4 separate regions of the Homo sapiens genome follow, and regions 1, 3 and 4 are each linked to region 2. Evidence: promoter capture Hi-C in 16 types of primary human blood cells and fetal thymus (Javierre and others, 2016). All regions are on one chromosome and are shown on one strand. The core of a region is centred on a gene start or on the middle of the fragment in contact, and the rest is flanking DNA. Distances in the headings are between cores, read along the strand shown.

What was found. Contacts are between HindIII fragments. The CHiCAGO score rates a contact against its expected background, and 5 or more counts as called.
Region 1: a contact is called between a fragment that was not itself captured here and the fragment with the promoter of ACTL9 in region 2, in 1 of 17 cell types (M2 macrophages). The highest score is 6.5, in M2 macrophages.
Region 3: a fragment that was not itself captured here is called in contact with the fragment with the promoter of ACTL9 in region 2 in 3 of 17 cell types (endothelial precursors, M2 macrophages and erythroblasts); the score reaches 8.5 in endothelial precursors.
Region 4: a fragment that was not itself captured here is called in contact with the fragment with the promoter of ACTL9 in region 2 in 1 of 17 cell types (endothelial precursors); the score reaches 6.4 in endothelial precursors.

What each region holds. Positions count from the first base shown.
Region 1 is chr19:8,993,259-8,996,445 of GRCh38, reverse strand. MUC16 (mucin 16, cell surface associated) reads left to right here. Exons shown (of 94, transcript NM_001414686.1): 3 at 2,338-2,451. Among named protein-coding and RNA genes, the nearest start is that of MUC16, 71 kb to the left of the region's middle. The HindIII fragment of the contact is 6,614 bases long and covers 1-3,187 here.
Region 2 is chr19:8,697,428-8,700,464 of GRCh38, reverse strand. It overlaps ACTL9 (actin like 9), which reads left to right and starts at 1,670. Exons shown (of 1, transcript NM_178525.5): 1 at 1,670-3,037. The coding sequence starts at 1,764. The coding sequence ends at 3,014. The HindIII fragment of the contact is 13,278 bases long and covers 1,427-3,037 here.
Region 3 is chr19:9,093,441-9,096,649 of GRCh38, reverse strand. OR1M1 (olfactory receptor family 1 subfamily M member 1) reads right to left here. Exons shown (of 2, transcript NM_001004456.2): 2 at 981-3,209. The coding sequence ends at 2,464. Among named protein-coding and RNA genes, the nearest start is that of OR1M1, 8.0 kb to the right of the region's middle. The HindIII fragment of the contact is 2,582 bases long and covers 9-2,590 here.
Region 4 is chr19:9,122,823-9,125,719 of GRCh38, reverse strand. No RefSeq gene overlaps it. Among named protein-coding and RNA genes, the nearest start is that of OR7G3, 2.7 kb to the left of the region's middle. The HindIII fragment of the contact is 3,883 bases long and covers 1-2,897 here.

The DNA.
Region 1 (3,187 bases), core at 595-3,094, 300 kb before region 2:
GTAGAGTGACTTCAAAATTCCCTTCACTCTCTGCAAGGACATTAATTATTTATCTGTTGGATGAATCGTTGTCTGCTTTCTCCACTAGGATGTAAACTTTTTTTTTTATACTTTAAGTTCTGGGGTACATGTGCAGAACGTGCAGGTTAACAAACATACGTATACATGTGCCATGGTGGTTTGCTGCACCCATCAACCCATCATCTACATTAGGTATTTCTCCTAATGTTATACCTCCCCTATAGCCCCCCAACCCCCAACAGGCCCCAGTGTGTGATGTTCCCCTACCTGTGTCCATGTGTTCTCATTGTTCAACTCCCACTTATGAGTGAGAACATGCAGTATTTGGTTTTCTGTTCTGGACATAAACTTTTTGAGGGAGTAAAGACTTGTCTTGTTCCTCACTCTGTGCCCCAAACTTGGAATTGTTGCCAAAACACCAGGGGTCCAGGCTAGGTCCTGCTGCTCACCACACAGAAAGTCAATCACTGAGACAACGATTATTACCAAGGAAGAAGACTTTAATCTCCTTGGCTGCAGTGAGAAAATGGGAGCTCAGTCTTAAATCCATCTCCCTGACCAACTAAAATTACAGGTTTATATAGCAGGGAAGAAATGTGACTACGTGTAGTAAAACAGGAAATCAAGAGGGGTCAGGAAGCAATCATGAGGAATGAGGGGTCTGACATCTCATTGTCTGGATATGATGATCTGCTGAGTTTCTTTTCTTTGATACTTTTTGAGAGGACTGGGGGTCCTTTAATGAGGAAGGAACTCAGATAAAACAAATGTAAGTTTCCCACAGAATGGGAGAAAATATTTGTAAACTATGCACCTGACAAAAGTCTAATATCCAGCATCTATAGAGAACTTAAGTAAATTTACAAGAGAAAAACAAACAACACCATTAAAAAGTGGGCAAAGGCCGGGCACGGTGGCTCACAACTGCAATCCCAGCACTTTGGGAGGCCAAGGCGGGCAGATCACTATGTCAGGAGTTCGAGACCAGCCTGACCAACATGGTGAAACCCTGTCTCTACTAAAAATACAAAAATTAGCCGGGCACGGTGGTGCACGCCTGTAATCCCAGCTACTCAGGAGGCTGAGGCAGGAGAATCACTTGAACCTGGGAGGCGGAGGTTGCTGTGAGGCGCGATCACTACTGCACTCCAGCCTGGTCGACAGAGTGAGACACTGTATCAAAAAAAAAAAACCAAAAAACAAAAAAAACAGACACTTTTTGAAAGAAGAGATACATGTAGCCAAGAAGCATATGAAAAAAATGCTCACTATCACTGATCATTAAAGAAATGCAAATCAAAACCACAATGAGATAGCATCTCACCATAGTCAGAATGGCTATTATTAAAAAGTCAAAAAATAACAGATGCTGGCAAGGTTGTGGAGAAAATTGAACATTTATACACTGTTGGTGGGAGTGTAAATTAGTTCAACTATTGTGGAAAGCAGTGTGGCAATTCCTCAAAGAGCTAAAAGTAGAACTACCATTTGACCCAGCAATCTCATTATTGGGTATATACCCAGAGAAATATAAATCATTCTACCATAAAGACATATACACGTGAATGTTCATTGCAGCACTATTCCCAATAGCAAAGACAATGGAATCAACCTAAACGCCCATCAATGACAGATTGGATAAAGCAAATGTGATACATATACACCATGGAATACTATGCAGCCATAAAAAAGAACAAGATCATTGCTTTTGCGGGAACATGGATGGGGCTGGAGGCCATTATCCTTAGCAAACTAACCCAGGAACAGAAAACCAAATATTGCATGTTCTCACTTAGAAGTGGGAGCTAAATGATGATAACTCATGAACACAAAGAAGGGAATAAAAAACACTGGGGTCTACTTCATGGTAAGCGTTAGGAGGAGAGAGAGGAGCAGAAAAAATAACTATTGGGTACTAGGCTTCATACCTGGGTGATAAAATCATTTGTACAACAAACCCCGTGACATGAGATTACCTATATAACAAACCTTCACACGTAGCCCCAAACCTAAAATAGTTAAACAATAACAAATGTCAGTTTCAAGTATTTAAATAGGTATATAAATACTGTCTATGAGACTATCGGGTTGGTTTCAGAATCAGCTGTCGTATAAAAGGTGCTCAAGACATATTTGCTGGTTGGATGAATGAGTGACTGAGGGTCTGGAATAAATATTAAATAAATGAAATGGTAAATGAACGAGTCACTATGCAGAGATTCCTATGGAAAGAAGAGCAAGTCCAGAAGAAATTTTTTTTTTATGTTTTTCGTTCTACTTCCTGCTGGGATAACCAACTTGGTTCTTCCTCCACAGGGCTGCCTTTCGACGCAGTGGTCTTTGCCCAAACCACAGACCAAGGAACACTTGGAGCCACCAGGCAGTTGACCCACGACCCTTCCTCCCCGGCGTCACTCATCAGCTCCGTGGGTAGGTAATAATAAAATAAATAATAATAATAATAATAATTAAATAATAATAAATAATAAAAACCAGTAACAGGCTGGGCGGTGGCTCACGCCTGTAATCCCAGCACTTTGGGAGGCTGAGGCAGGCGGATCACGAGGTCAAGAGATCAAGACCATTCTGGCTAACACAGTGAAACCCCATCTCTACTCAAAATACAAAAATTAGCCAGGCGTAGTGGCGCACACCTGTAGTCCCAGCTGCTTGGGAGGCTGAGGCAGGAGAATTGCTTGAACCCAGGAGGCAGAGGTTGCAGTGAGCCGAGATCACGCCATTGCACTCCAGCTTGGCGACAGTGCAAGACTCCGTCTCAAAACAAACAAACAAAAAACAAAAATAAAAAAACAAAATGACAACAAAAAACCGCCCCACCGCCCCAAAAAAAAACAGTAACAGGAGTTTATTAAGTCCTAATTCCTTCACCCTGCATGGTGGATCACATCACTGCATCATCTCAACAGCCCTCTGCTGTTATCCCCGTTGGGCATATGAGGAGACAAGGCTCAGAGAGGTTAAGTGACTTGCCCCAGATCACACAGTGAGTAATTGGGACTTGAGTCCCACTGAGTCCACTTCTTTCATTTTCCTCCCACTGTGCATTTTGTTTCCTGCTCTGGGAAGATTGCAATTGGCTTGATTTTAGGAAGGAAAGAAAATGAGTCTTCAAGAGATGATTTGGGCTGGGCACAGTGGCTCACAC
Region 2 (3,037 bases), core at 421-2,920:
CATAAGACATTCACTAGCACTATTCCTGGTGATTTCTACCACCACATGCATGAACATACACTAAGAAAAACGTTTTTATTTGCTTTAACTAACAGGTGATATCTGATATCACCAAAAACAGCCATGGTCTTGAAGCAACTCTCCTAATGCATTTTGAAGCCTGCTATTTATTGTTGAGATAATTCCTTCCTCCCAAATGCACCCTCTCCCCTTTTATCTATACTGAAACCCCTTCTTGTATCTCACTGAGCCCCTCTCCTGCCAGGAGGAAGCAGGTAACAACCCCTGGAGAGAAGGCAGACTTCCCCCATCCCTCATCTAGTTGGAGTACAGAGTAGAAATCAGGGTTGGCTTCCAGGAGGAGGTGGCATCAGACTGAGATTTGAAGAGGCAAATTCCTTCTTGGCAGGAATGGGACAGGGAGAATGATTCAGGCAGTGAATATAGCAGAGGAAGCAAAGAATCTAGGACAGGGGTGTTCCTGTCTCTCCCTGCCTCTCTCCATCCCCAACCAAGGCTGGCCTCTGTCTCCATTTGGAAACCAGGAAGCCATGCTAGCCCGCCCCACCTTCTAATTAATATTCTGAGGAGGAATATTCTAATATTCTAGGGAGGCCTGTGGCAAGCTCTCTGCCACTAGGCTGTAAATAGCTTCATGGCGAGGTACCCAGAGGAGGATTCCTGGGTCTTCCTGAAAGCGTGGCCCAAAGAGTTAGAGAAACCAATTTTGCATGTTTTTAGTGAAACCATGCCCCAAAGAAATGTTTGAGCTTGCAGAATGGCAGATCAAAAAAGAAACAACTTGCTGAAATGCCTTCCACTTATGAGGGTTTTTTGTTTGTTTCTTTGTTTGTTTGTTTGTTTGTTTTGAGATGAGTCTCGCTCTGTCATACAGGCTGGAGTGCAGTAGCATGATCTTGGCTCGCTGCAACCTCCACCTCCCGGGTTCAAGAGATTCTCCTGCCTCAGCCTCCCTAGTAGCTGGGACTACAGGCATGTGCCACCATGCCTGGCTAATTTTTTTTCTTTTATTTTCTTTTTCTTTTGAGACAGAGTCTCACTCCATCCCCCAGCCTGGAGTGCGGTGGCATGATCTTGGTTCACTTCAACCTCCACCTCCTGGGTTCAAGTGATTCTCCTGCCTCAGCCTCCCCAGTAGCTGGGACCACAGGCATGCGCCACCATGCCAGGCTAATTTTTGTATTTTTTGGTAGAGACGGGTTTCACCATGTTGGCCAGGCTGGTCTCGAACTCCTGACCTCAGGTGATCTCCCACCTCGGTCTCCCAAAGTGCTGGGATTACAGGTGTGAGCCACAGCCCCCGGCCCCAGAACTTTTCTAATAAAATTACTGCCTTAAAGCCAGCTGAGAAACAGACTTGTGCTGGATTCCTAGCTCCCAGTGGGTTGACATGCAACAAAAAGCTTGTCTTTTCTCAAAAACCAGGTGCCATCGTATTAGCTTCTAGCGCATCCGACAGAAATGTGTTAAGAGGGCCCTGCTCTGAGATGCTCATCTCCTCCTCCAAATTTGGCTCTTCAGAGAAGAGATGACAGCCTTTGGGCAGGCAGGGCTGGGCAGGGACCCATCCTCTTGGCTGCATTGTGATGTCTTAAGAAGACTGAAGGGGCACCGTGACGTCATAGATTGCGGGCCCACCCCTCCCCCTGTCTGCCTGCCCTCCCCACTGGCCGGGCCTCAACCTCTTCTCCCCGCAACCCCAACCCCAGAGGAAAAGCCCCCTCACCTGGCGTCCCGCAACCATGGATGCAAGTCGCCCCAAGTCCTCGGAATCCCAGTCCTCCCTGGAGGCCCCCAGGCCCGGCCCAAACCCCAGTCCCAACGTGGTGAACAAGCCCCTGCAGCGGGACTCCCCCGGCATGGTGGCCGACAGGCTGCCACCAAAGACCGGCGCGGTGGTTATTGACATGGGCACAGGCACCTGTAAGGTAGGTTTTGCTGGGCAGGCCAGCCCCACCTACACCGTGGCCACCATCCTGGGCTGCCAGCCCAAGAAACCCGCCACCTCGGGGCAGTCCGGGCTGCAGACGTTCATCGGCGAGGCAGCCCGCGTGCTCCCAGAGCTGACGCTGGTGCAACCCCTGCGCAGCGGCATCGTCGTGGACTGGGATGCCGCCGAGCTCATCTGGCGCCACCTGCTGGAGCACGACCTCCGAGTGGCCACCCACGACCACCCGCTGCTGTTCTCCGACCCACCCTTCAGCCCGGCCACCAACCGCGAGAAGCTAGTGGAGGTGGCCTTCGAGTCGCTGCGCTCCCCAGCCATGTACGTGGCATCGCAGTCGGTGCTGTCTGTCTACGCCCACGGTCGTGTCAGCGGGCTGGTGGTGGACACGGGACACGGGGTCACCTACACAGTGCCCGTCTTCCAGGGCTACAACCTGCTCCACGCCACGGAGCGTCTGGACCTGGCGGGCAACAACCTGACCGCCTTCCTGGCGGAGATGCTGCTCCAGGCCGGCCTGCCCCTGGGACAGCAGGACCTGGACCTAGTGGAGAACATTAAGCACCACTATTGCTACGTGGCCTCCGACTTCCAGAAGGAGCAGGCCCGGCCGGAGCAGGAGTACAAGCGGACTCTGAAGCTGCCCGATGGGCGCACGGTCACCCTGGGCAAGGAGCTGTTCCAGTGTCCGGAGCTGCTGTTCAACCCCCCAGAGGTCCCGGGGCTGTCACCCGTCGGCCTCTCCACCATGGCCAAGCAGAGTCTCCGCAAGTTGTCACTGGAGATGCGCGCGGACTTGGCCCAAAACGTGCTTCTCTGCGGTGGGTCCTCGCTCTTCACCGGCTTCGAGGGTCGCTTCCGGGCAGAGCTGCTGCGCGCTCTGCCAGCCGAGACCCACGTGGTGGTGGCTGCCCAGCCCACCAGGAATTTCTCCGTATGGATCGGGGGCTCCATCCTGGCCTCCCTGCGCGCCTTCCAGTCCTGCTGGGTCCTGCGGGAGCAGTACGAGGAACAGGGTCCCTATATCGTGTACCGCAAATGCTACTGACCAGGGCAGAGCTGGGGAGGGCG
Region 3 (3,209 bases), core at 50-2,549, 400 kb before region 2:
AGGAAGCTTCCAATCACGGTGGAAGGGCAAGGGGAGCTGGCAAGTCAAATGGTGAGAGAGGAAGAGAGAGAGGGGAGGAGTGCCAGGGTCTTTGTGAAGTAGTAGAGCAAGAACTTCCTCATTACTATGGGGAGGGCACTAAATTCTTCATGATGAATCTGCCCCCATAATCAAACACCTCTGCCTAGGCCTCACCTCCGACACTGGGGATCACATTTCAACATAAGATCTGGAGGAGAGAAACATCCACATTATATCAACTTGAGACACTTCAACTTATTTATTTATTTATTTATTTATTTTGAGACAGTCTCGCTCCATCCCTTAGGCTGAAGTGCAGGTTGCAGTGGTGCCATCTCGGCCCACTGCAACCTCCGCCTCCCAGGTTCAAGTGATTCTCCTGCCTCAGCCTCCCGAGTAGCTGGGATTACAGGCACGCCCCACCACACCTGACTAATTTTTATATTTTTAGTAGAGATGGGGTTTTGCCATGTTGGCCAGGCTGGTCTTGAACTCCTGACCTCAGGTGATCTGCCTGCCTTGGCCTCCCAAAGTGCTGGGATTACAGGTGTAAGCCACAGCACCCGGGACACTTCTGCTTTATTAGTGACTCATATAAAGACAAGGGGTAAAAACAATGATTGGGCCAGGCGTGGTGGCTGATGTCTGTAATCCCAACATTTTGGGAGGCCAAGGCAGGTGGATCACCTGAGGTCAGGAGTTCAAGACCAGCCTGGCCAACATGGTGAAATCCCGTCTCTACTAAAAATACAAAAAAACTAGCTGGGTGTGGTGGTGCGCTCCTGTAGTCCCAGCTACTGGGGAGGCTGAGGCGGAGAATTGCATGAACCCAGGAGGTGGAGGTTGCAGTGAGCTGAGATAGTGCCACTACACTCCAGCCTGGGCAACAGAGTGAGACTCTGTCTCAAAAAAAAAAAAAAAAAATTTTGGCCAGGTGTGGTGGCTCACACCTGTAATCCCAGCATTTTGAGAGGCTGAGATGGGAGGATGGCTTGAGCTCAGGAGTTTGAGAGCAGCCTGGACAACATAGTGAGACCCCATCTCTACCAAAAAAATATATACAAATAAAAATAAATTAGCCGGGCATGGTGCTGCATGCCTCTGGTCCCAACTACTTGGGAGGCTGAGGTGGGAGGACTGCTTGAGCCCAGGAGGTCAAGACTGCAGTGAGCTATAATCATGCCGCTGCACTCCAGCCTGGGCAACAGAGCCCCAGAATGATTATCTTTCCTAACGGAGTTTGGAGACAGAGTCGGTCCAGCCACAGAACCACATGGCGGCATTTCACTCCTTCACGTGTTGACATCTTCCTAAGACTCCTCCCCTCACAGTCACTGTGTTATTCGGCCAGGGCTGGTTATAACAAAACACCGCAGACTGCGTGGCTAAATAAGTGAAGTGGATTGTCTCATGGTTCTGAGGGTCAGAAGCCCAAGATCGACGTGCCGTTGGGATTGGTTTTTGGTGAAGTCTTTCTTCCGTGGCAGATAGACCCCCTTTCGCTGTGTCCTCAAATGGCCTTTCCAGCCAGGCTTGGTGGCTCACGCCTGTAATCCCAGCACTTTGGGAGGCCAAGGTGGGTGGATCATTTGAGGTCAGGAGGTCGAGAACAGCCTGGCCCACATGGTAAAACCCTGTCTCCACCAAAAATACAAAAATTAGCCGGGTATGGTGATGGGTGCCTGTAGTTCCAGCTAGTCTGGAGGGTGAGGCAGGAGGATCACTTGAACCCAGAGGCGGAGGTTGCAGTGAGCAGAGATCATGCCATTGCACTCCAGCCTGGGTGACAGAATGAGACTCTGTCTCAAAAACAAAAAAGAAAACAAAAAGAAAAACAGTTACCAGACCATCCTGAGACTTCCCGTGAAACTTCTGCGGCTGGGTAGTATGGCAAAACCCTGTCTGTACAAAAGATACAAAAATTAGCTGAGCATGGTGGTATGTGCCTATGGTCCTAGCTACTCGGAAGGCTGAGGTGGGAGGATTGCTTCAGCCAGGGAGGTCAAGGCTGCAATGAGCCGTGATCATGCCACTGCACTCCAGCCTGGGCAACAGAACGAGACTCTGTCTCAAAAAACAAAAACAAACAAAAAATTCAAAGTGAGGCTCGGCGTGGTAGCTCACACCTGTAATCCTAGGATGTTAGGAGGCTGAGGGGGAAGTACTGCTTGAGCCCAGGAGTTCCAGACCAGCCTGGCCAAATTAGTGAGACCCTGTCTCTAGTAAAACAATGCACACAGAGAGAGAAGTTTGAAGCTGCAGTGATCTATGATCACGCCACTGCACTCCAGCACGGGCAACATAGTGAGACCCCATCTCTAAATAATAATAATAATAATAAAATTCAAAGTGCCTACTCTTCAACTCATGCAATTCCAGATGTTAGCCCAAGACTCCCAGATGTATATATTCTACCCCCCAGAAGTTCCTGAGTCCTGGTGGTCAGGAAGATGAGGTGATCTTTCTGTTGACCAGCTTCCTGAGAGCCCCTTTCAGGTCTCTGTTCCTCAAGCTGTAGATGAAGGGATTCAGCATGGGGGTGACTGCTGTGTACATCACCGCAGAAGCTTTCTCCTTCACAGTGGTGAGGACCGAGGAGGGACACAGATAGACGCCAATGGTGGTCCCATAGAAGAGAGCAACCACAGACAGGTGGGAGCTGCAGGTGGAGAAGGCTTTCTTCCTGCCGCCTGCAGAGGGGACCTTCATGATGGCCACAAGGATGCGAGCATAGGAGGCCAGGATGCAGACAAAGGGCGTGGCTATCACCATCCCTGCCACAATGAGGATGAAGATCCTATTCACAGAGGTGTCCGTGCACGAAAGTCGGAGGATGGGAGTGAGGTCGCAGAAGTAGTGAGGCACCTCATGGCTGCCGCAGAAAACGAGACGGGCCATCAGGAGGATGTGAGTGAGTGAGATGAAGCAGGAAAACGCCCAGAGGGCGCCGACCAGCAGGCGACAGAGGCGTAGGCTCATGATCTTGGCGTAGTGCAATGGGTGGCAGATGGCCACGAACCGGTCATAAGCCATCATGGCGATTATGACGCTGTCCACGATGCCAAAGAAATGGAAGAAGTACATCTGGATCAGGCAGCAGGGATAAGAGATGGCCTTGCTCCCGGTTTGAAGGCTCACCAGCATCTTAGGGATGGTGTTGGTGGCCAGACAGAAATCAACCAGGGACA
Region 4 (2,897 bases), core at 173-2,672, 430 kb before region 2:
TTTAATAGAGACGGGGTTTCACCACATTGGCCAGGATGGTCTCGAACTCCTGACCTCAGGTGATCTGCCCGTCTCAGCCTCCCAAAGTGCTGGGATTACAGGCATGAGCCACTGTGCCCCACCTGACCAATGTCTTTGAATACATGAGACCAGAGATCAGATGGTTCAGGGTGATAGTTTTGGAATCGGACCACGTGGACTTGAGTTCTTTTTGGATTGATTGACTGACTAATTGATTTTTGAGACAGTCTCTCACTTTGTTGCCCAGGCTGGAGTGCAGTGGTGTGATCACAGCTCACTGCTGCCTCGAATTCCTGGGCTAAAGCGATCCTCTGGACTCAGCCTGACGAGTAGCTGAGACTGCAGGTGCATGCCACCACACCTGGCTTTTTTTAAATTTTTGTATCAATGCATAAGAGATGTACATTGTTTCAGGATGCATGTGATAGTGTAATACATTTGTATAATCTGCAAGGATTTGTTACTTTAGATATCCATCACCTTAAATATTTGTCTTATCTTTATGCTCCAACCATTCCAATTGTTCTCTTCTAGGTATTTTGAAATATACAATGGATTATTTTGAACTATAGTCACCCTACTGGTCTATCCAATACTAAGTCTTTTTTTAAAAAAAATTAAATTTAATTAAAAATTTAAAAACTTATTTATTTATTTATTTATTTATTTATTTATTGAGACAGAGTCTTGCTCTGTCGCCCAGTCTAGAGTGCAGTGGCTCAATTTCGGCTTACTGCAACCTCCACCTCTGGGGCTCAAGCGATTCTCCTGCCTCAGCCTCCTGAATAGCTGGGATTACAGGCGCCTGCTACTGTGCCTGGCTCATTTTTGTATTTTTAGTAGAGACAGAGTTTCACCATGTTGGCCAGGCGGGCCTTGAACTCCTGACCTCAGGTAATCTGCCCGCCTCAGCCTCCCAAAGTGCTGGGATTACAGGCATGAGCCACCATGCCCAGCTAGCTAATTTATTTTTAATTTAAAAATTAAGTAATTTATTTACAATTTAAAAATCAAGTAATTAATTTTTAATTTTAATATTAAATGATTAATTTCTTTTTTAGAGAGAGCCTTGCTCTGTTGCCGAGGTTGAACTACAGTGGTGTGATTATAACTCACTGCAGCCTCAAACTCCTGGCCTCAAACAATCCTTCTGCCTCAGCCTTCCAAAGTGCTGGGATTAAGCAGTGTGAGCCACTGTGCCCAGGTCGCCTATACTTTAAATCATTTCTAGATTACTTATATTACCTAGCATAATGTTAATCCTATGTAAATAGTTGTATTACTTAATATTGTATTTTTGTAATATTCTTATTTAATATTTTTAAAATTTTCTTTAATATTTTTAATATTTTTGATCCACAGTTGGTTGAGTCCATGAATGTGGTACTGGCAGATATGGAAGGCTGACTGTACTTGGTATATATATTGTTAAAATTGTCAGAATCAAAATGGAGTCACTTATTAAAAAAAAAAAAGGCTGGGTGTAGCGGCTATCAAAAAAGTCTGCACTTTGATAGGCTGAAGTGGGCGGATCACAAGGTCAGGAGTTCGAGACCAGCCTGGCCAACATGGTGAAACCCCATCTCTATGAAAAATACAAAAATTAGCCAGACGTTGTGGCGCATATCTGTAATCCCAGCTACTCAGGAGGCTGAGGCATGAGAATCGCTTGAACCTGGGAGGCGGAGGTTGCAGTGAGCCAAGATCGCACCACTGCATTCCAGCCTGGGCGACAGAGCAAGACTCCATCTCATGAAAAACAAACAAACAAACAAAAATGAAAAAAACAAAAACATCCTGACAAGTAAAGCTAGGGAAGGCCATGAAGAGATTTATTTCACTTGCATGCCTAATAACAAAAACTATCACAAGACTACAAAAACTATCACGAGACGACAAAAACTATCACGAGACGACAAAAACCACAACCTTGCACAAAAGGCTGTTGCAACCTTACACAAAAAATATTTCTGCAAGTACATCTGCCCAGCAACTGCCTGTCCAGCTTCAGACTGGCATCACCCTTGTTATTAGTTATTACTGTGAAGGATAATTATTTCAAAACAATTATGTAACCTTCCTCATTTTTCCATTAAAAAACTTTGTCTTCCTTTACCTCCTTGAATGCATACATAGTTTATGATGGCACGCGTATCGCTATTGCAATGCTTTCTTTGGCAATAAACATCATTTTCTTTTAGATAGCCTCTTTCTGTTATTTAGGTTGACTATCTATAGTTATATTGATTTATGTTTGTGCTGTTGAATTTCAAAGGAATTGAAATCAATATGCTGAAGAGATATCTGCACTCTCATGTTCATTGCAGTATTAGTCACAATAGCCAGGAAATGTAATCAACCTGAATGTCCATCAACATATAAGTGGATAAAGAAAATGTGGTATGGCAGGCACGGTGGCTCACGCCTGTAATCCCAGCACTTTGGGAGCCTGAGGTAGGTAGATTACTTGAGGTCAGGAGTTCAAGACTAGCCTGGCCAACATGGTGAAACCGTGTCTCCACTAAAAATACAAAAATTAGCCAGGCATGATGACGTATGCCTGTAATCCCAGCTACTCAGGAGGCTGAGGCAGGAGAATCACTTGAACCCAGGAGGCGGAGGTTGCAGTGAGCCGAGATCGCACCACTGCACTCTAGCCTGGGCAACAGAGTGAGACTTTGTCTGGAAAAGAAAAAGAAAATGTGGTATATGATAGAGTACTATGCACCCTTTAAAAAGAAGGAAATTCTGTCATTCGCCACAACATGGAGGAACCTGGAGAACATTATGCTAAGTGAAATAAGCCAGGTACAGAAAGACAAATACTGCATGATCTCAACCATGTGTAGAATCCAAAAGAGCTGATCTCATAAAAT